Linked DNA regions of Homo sapiens: region 2 is linked to region 1. Evidence: promoter capture Hi-C in 16 types of primary human blood cells and fetal thymus (Javierre and others, 2016). All regions are on one chromosome and are shown on one strand. Each heading gives the region's core, a stretch centred on a gene start or on the middle of the fragment in contact. The rest is flanking DNA. Distances are from core to core; before and after follow the strand shown. Region 1 holds the start of RBM43 (RNA binding motif protein 43). Region 2 overlaps PRPF40A (pre-mRNA processing factor 40A).

Region 1 (3,164 bases), core at 289-2,788:
TCAGCCGTATAACAAATAGCTCCATCCAATGATAAACTAGGTGGATCCCAGTTTATAAAAAAATTATTACTACCTGTATTTCAAGCAATGTACAACTAAAATTTCTATACAATATCTTAGTGCCATTTGCGCACTATAACTTCAAGTTCAGTTCTAAAAGTAGAATTGCTGAGACTAAGAATATGTGCATTTTACATTTTTTTGCACTTTACATTTTGATAAAAATCTTTAGAAGTATTTGCATCCATCTATGCTTGCAGCAACTCTGATGCTTACATTCAGGCTAACACTTTCTGGTTTTGCAGATCTAGTTGTGAAAAATGGTATCTTATTATTTCAATTTACATTTCTTAGGAGTGGGATTGGGTTTCTTCATATCTGCTAGCCATCTACCTTTGTTCTTCATGCATTCATTGATTTGATTTTGAAGTTTGTCCAGAGATTCCCTGTGTCCCCACAGGCGCCATTCGGGGTTCCTGTGCTAAGGCATGGACAAGGTGGTGAGCTCTCTGCTGGCAGGGACCTGGCGCTCTCATCCTGTGTCCTTAGCACCCGGCAGAGGTCCAAGAGGGCTCCTGGTCTGGGCTGGGAAGGTGACCAACACGGCGTTGGGGGTTGAGGTGGGGGTTGGGGAACTGGGGTAGGTTGTGCAGAGGAAAAGGCCCAGGTGAGCGGTGGGGGAAGGGGAAGAAGTCTGGACAGATAATAAGGGCGTAGGAAAGACATCCAGATTTCACTGAGTGCAGGGCTTTTTAAAACTGATGTTAGAAAAACTTGATTTGCTGTTGTAAAAAACCATCTGTGTGAAGTAGAAATTGATATCAATAACATGATAGAGAATACGTTCTAAAAAGTAAAGGTAGCTGGATGTAAAATTCTGGCAGAAGTTTAATATCCTAGATGGTTAGTTTGAGGCCAGCAACTAATGAGGATAAAAGCCTTCTCCATGGAAAATTTTGGACAGTTATCTGGAGAAATATTACAGTGCGCATCAACCAAATTGAAATGTTTTCAAAAGTGTTGTAAAGTTTCATGTAGTAAAAAGGTTTTAGCCACATGCCCTTCAATTTCATGGCATCGAATATATAAACACAGAAGAGAGCATGCATGCAAGATATTTAACTCCCTTACATGATAATGCATGCGATTCAAAACTATCATGACATCTAGGGCTCTCTGCAACTACGAGATGATTGATGTTAGGAAAAGCGTAGCCCCCCAGTATCAACACAGGAAGCGGCCACCACCTACTATGTGTTTTCCCTTTTTGCGTTTTTTCTTTTTTTAAATCAACTCTGCCGTTGTTGCTGCTGCTTAGCAAAACGGGTAAAAACAAAATTGCAATCACTGATGCATCACCCAGAGAATTCCCAAATTTCCTGTCGAGGAATCCTCTCGGCCTCTCTCCAGAGTGCTTCCACAAGTTGCAAAACTACGGAGGGCGTCTGGGCAGGCGCTGGCAACAGCACTCCTGAGTCCGAGCTCCCACTCAGAGGCCACGAGGTCGCAGAACAGCCGGATCGGGTGGAAGGACCGCCCTTTTCTTCGTAGCCTCCAAGGGAGCTGGAACAAAAAACGAAACCAAAACCTGCCTGCTCGCTCCTCTCCCCATCGCCTGCGTTCCGCTGGTTGTGGGCTTTCTGCGGCCGCTGAGGGCGCGTCTCCCCTCCGCCATGGCAAGTTGCTTTTGCTTTGGGTTTTGCGGTGCAGGTCCGTGCCTGTACCGTCGCCATGGTCCCCTAGAAGGGCGCGGAACCGGGCGCGACGGGCCAGGGTGCAGGGCTGCGCGGGAGGGGGCGGCGCACGGAGGGGCCCCAGGGACCCCGGGGGCCCCGGAGAGCCGTCCACCCCGGCGGGCAAACTCAGGTCAGCCTCGCTGCACCCTTCCCAGGTGGCGGCATTGCGCGCTCCTGAAATTCACGTACGGCGGTGCAGTATAGGCCCGCTCCAGAGGCTCAGGACTAGGCTGTCACCTCCCACACCCACTGCCCAGGCGACGGGGACGCCGCCGTTCGTCGAGGAGCTGCTTCGCAGGCTGTTAGGGCTTAACTGTTGTCCTCCCACGCCTCGGGGGGAACAAAAGTGGCCTGATTAGCCAGAAATGGAGGTCACAGCTGCCTTTTGAAAAGGGCTAATAAGAACGATTCGAGCCAAGGACGCAAGTCAGGAAGACATCCTCATGTCTTATGTCTGCCTTGGTGCGAATTCTTGTCTTAGCAAATTCAAAATTTATCCTTCTGTGTTTTGTTTTGTTTCCATCAATCGCTTAAAAGCCTTGGCAAGGCCTTTAATTCCTGCTCTGAAATGCTAGAGTCCCGGAAATGCAAAAGCAAGTACGTTTTTGTTGACCTGGTGGCGGTAGAGGCGTCGTCATTGAAAATAAACAACTGATTTTGAGAAAATCAATATAAACAAATGCAGTCAATGAATCTTCTGTTTCTTCCCAATGCCTTACTTACAAAAGTAAAGTTTTGCTATATACTTTTTGCTTTCTGATAAGATGGCCAAGTCTGTTATAACACAATACTGATGCAAGGAAATGCGCCATCACGTTAGTATGTCTTGGCTAAAAGCTGCTCGTTTCAAAGTCCTTGAAAGGACTGTCTTTCTCTAGGCATTTCTTTATCTTAATCGTGGGTAGAAGAGATGAACAACCCTCATTATTCATAATTGACCTCAGTAAAATTATCTATGTTAGCCATACTTTCTCCAACCTATGAAAGGGAGTTAAGGACAAATATTGGCAAGTCATTGAAGTACTAATTCATTAGATGATTCATAGAAACTAGTTCTTACCAAACAAAATTTACATCTTTATGTTTTTTTCTTCTAAAAATACTGGTTCAGGGAGAAGTTTCTTTGATTTTAAAGATAAATTACCAGTAGACATTCGAATAAAGAAATATGGTATTAGTACTAATGAGGGCATAGAGCTGAAGTAAGATTTCCTGAGTTTAAATTGATTGCATGTTTTTCTTTGATATTGTTGGGGTGCAGAAAATGATCTCCCTGCCCGGCACGGTGGCTCACGCCTGTAATCCCAGCACTTTGGGAGGCGAAGGAGGGCGGATCACTTGAGGTCAGGAGTCTCTACTAAAAATACAAAAATTAGCTGGGCGTGATGGCATCCACCTGTAGTCTCAGCTACTGGGGAGGCTGAGGTG
Region 2 (3,164 bases), core at 346-2,845, 1.4 Mb before region 1:
CAAGATATGTGTGGTGAGTCAGTAGTAGATGATATTTAGTCTCTGGAGGACAAAGGGACTGCTAAGGTATAGTTTGGGGATGGGCCATAATTTCTTAAACACTAAGAAAAGGACCTGGGATTGCATGTTTTTTAGGTAGTAGTTCGTTTTCATCTTCAAGTATCATTTTTATTTTCAGTGATAGAAAATATCATGGAGCAATGAATTTTTTGCATTTCATATCTCACCTATTTCAATAATTATAATAGCTAATATTCTTTGATTGCTTACTGTCAATACAATTTACATTTGTAATCTCAATTTTTATGACAGTCTTACCTTATAAGGGTACTTACTGTTTTTGTTATATAAGTTTATATAACTAAGGAAATGGAGAGGTGAAGTGACTTGCCCAAGTTCAACAGCTGCTGAATAGTGAAGCCAGAATTTGAATCCATGCAGTTTTGATTACAGGGTCTCTTCCATTAACCATTGTATTAGGATAAATGCTAGGTTACAATGGCTTAAATAAGTTTTTTTCTTGAAGTAACAGTCTTTTTGGTCTAGGGCAGGGCATATTGCCATCCCTTAAGGCAGTGGTTCTCAAAATTCAGTGTATCAGAATGAAGTGGAGGATTTTTAAAAAATTTCTTCTGGCCGGGCACGGTGGCTCATGCCCATAATCCCAGCACTTTGAGAGGCTGAGGCTGGCAACTGCTTGAGTCCAGAAGTTCAAGACCAGCCTGGGTAACACGATGAAACCCGGTCCCTACTAAAAATACAAAATAATAATAATAATAATTAGCCGGGTGTGGTGGTGCATGCCTGTAGTCCCAGCTACTCAGGAGGCTGAGGTGGGAGAACCTGAGCCCAGGAGGTCAAGGCTGCAGTGAGCTGCGATGGTGCCACTGCACTCTAGACTGTGCAAAAGAGCGAGATCCTGTCTCCAAAAAAAAAAATTATTCGCGCTATGCCAAAGGTTACTGTGTTAAACGTCACAGCCAGTAGAAAGATTTCAGTCCTTATTCAATGAAAACTTAACATTTACTACTCTTGATAGGTTCCTTTATCTTAGTGACTTTCTAGACTTGATCATGTTCTACAACGGTTAAAAACACAAATTGTTTAGCCTTACCTGAAGAATTTGAATTAGTAAGTCTGGGGTGGAGTCTGAAAATTTCATTTCTAAATTTCCAGGTGATATTGATACTGTTGGACCATAGTTTGAGAACCAGTGCGCTAGCATGTTAACCTTCTCTGCAGAGTTAGGGGTATGCTGCCCCCATTTCACATTTTAACTTGGAAAAAGTAGAAAGAACAGTTCTTCTTAAAGCTAATGATGTAGAAGTTCTGCTCACCTCCTTCATTTGGGTTCAGTTGCTGAGAATTTAGTCACAGGGCCACAACTAGCTACACAAAGGAGGCTAGAAAACTTAGCTTTTAGCTAAGCAGCCATGTGCCCAGAAAGAAGGGGAGGACAGATTCTTAGGAGGGCTATTATACACTCTTCCACAACTTAAGCTTTAATGTCTCTGATGAAGGTTTTGCAGTGGTTTAAAATAAGGAGACATATATGAAAAAATAATAATACAGTGAAAATAAGGTCTGGGTCATAGAAAATACGAGACTATAATGTAAACAATATTGAAGATGGAGACTGTGAGGCAAAATTTTGATGTGAAGGCTGTTACGGTTCCTTAAATAAGCTTAAATGTGGCTTTGAATCAGATTGCTATGTGTCTGGCATAGTTTCTGATTACTACTAATATAATTGGTGTTAAGTATGTTGTATTAATATTCTTTCAGATATTCAGCCTGGTAATTTTCCTGTTGTGCTATTTCAAAAGATTTATTTAGGACTTTAGTGAAATGAATTAAAAGAGAAGATTGGCATTAGACAATAAAAGATCATTAATGGAGAGCTTCTCAGTAGTTATGATTATGATGATGACTAGCTTTTTATTTAGTGTTCATTTGCTAATCAGAAAATTCATCATGTCTGTGACAAGGAAACTATGATCTTGTTTTTCTTATGTCTTAAAACTGGTATTTGAAGTCAGTTTTGTCTGGAAAGGATTGATCTGAGGCTTTCAAGGAGAACCAGAGGAATGTATAGTGTCTCAGAAGCCAAGAGTTTGGAATTTTAAGATAGAGCATGATCCCCAAATGCACAGAATCAGTATCACCTGGGAAATTATGAAAATGCATATTCTCAAACTCCACGTCAGACTTACAGAATCAGATTCTGGAAATGGGACCTAACAATATGATTTTTTTAAACAGTCCTTCAAATGAGTCTTTGAGAAACCCCTGAGGTAAAGGAATCCACCTAAAGTAACATGTTAAGAAATTTTTATGGAATGAGGACTGAAAGAATACTGTTAAGGGTGGCATTTAAGGTGTTAAGAGTGGCATTTAAGGTGTTTAGTGACCATTGGCATGGTAGGGAAAGTTAAAGGTCTGCCAAATAGTTGAAAGATATTCAATAAGGTAAAATTCAAATAAGCTTGCAGTTAAGAGAAAGGCTTTTCTTGGGTAAGAGGAAACCAGTTAAGAGGGAGAGAATGAAGGAAGAATTGAAAAATAAGGGTGAGTCTCATTAAACAACATCTCGGAAAGTTGGGAATTCAAGCATATATATGAATACAGTTACATTGAGAACAGTATATAAGAGAACAAAAAGAAGGATGAAGATGGAGAAAAATTAATACCGATTTGGATCTAAGACAGTGGTGCTCAACCAAGAAAGATTTTGTGATTGTCACTATTTGTGGGGAACATGCTACTGGCATCTAGTGTGTAGAGGCGAGAGATGCTGATAAACATCCTGCAATGTACAGGGCTCAAACATACCCCGCCCTCAACCAAGAGAAAGAAAGAAAAAAAAATTACGTCATCCAAGATGTCATTAGTGCCACGGGAAGAAGAAACATCAAGCTCAGCCATCTTTGAAGCAACTTGCTTTCCATAATGTAAAAGGCAAGGCTTTTTCACCCCTAAAATGGGGCAAGTAAAATAGAATAAGAACCATACAGTTTTGTCAGAGTGGTTTTCAAACCTGAATTCACATCAGTCATCTAATATTCCAAATATCTGGATATTAATTCATATTGCTTTAAAAAAATATTCCTCAGGTGATTCTTTCAGGTTAGGGATCCACTATTGAAATAATTTCAGTCTCACAG

Evidence for each region. The method cuts DNA at HindIII sites, captures the fragments that hold promoters and counts their contacts. A CHiCAGO score of 5 or more calls a contact.
Region 2: a fragment that was not itself captured here is called in contact with the fragment with the promoter of RBM43 in region 1 in 4 of 17 cell types (non-activated CD4 T cells, total CD8 T cells, total B cells and 1 more); the score reaches 7.5 in non-activated CD4 T cells.

What each region holds. Positions count from the first base shown.
Region 1 is chr2:151,260,237-151,263,400 of GRCh38, reverse strand. RBM43 (RNA binding motif protein 43) reads left to right here and starts at 1,538. Exons shown (of 4, transcript NM_198557.3): 1 at 1,538-1,676. The coding sequence starts at 1,674. RefSeq lists an enhancer at 1,455-1,684 and a silencer at 1,725-1,994. The HindIII fragment of the contact is 8,034 bases long and covers 1-3,164 here.
Region 2 is chr2:152,665,765-152,668,928 of GRCh38, reverse strand. All of the region lies in intron 16 of PRPF40A (pre-mRNA processing factor 40A), which reads left to right. Among named protein-coding and RNA genes, the nearest start is that of PRPF40A, 50 kb to the left of the region's middle. The HindIII fragment of the contact is 185 bases long and covers 1,503-1,687 here.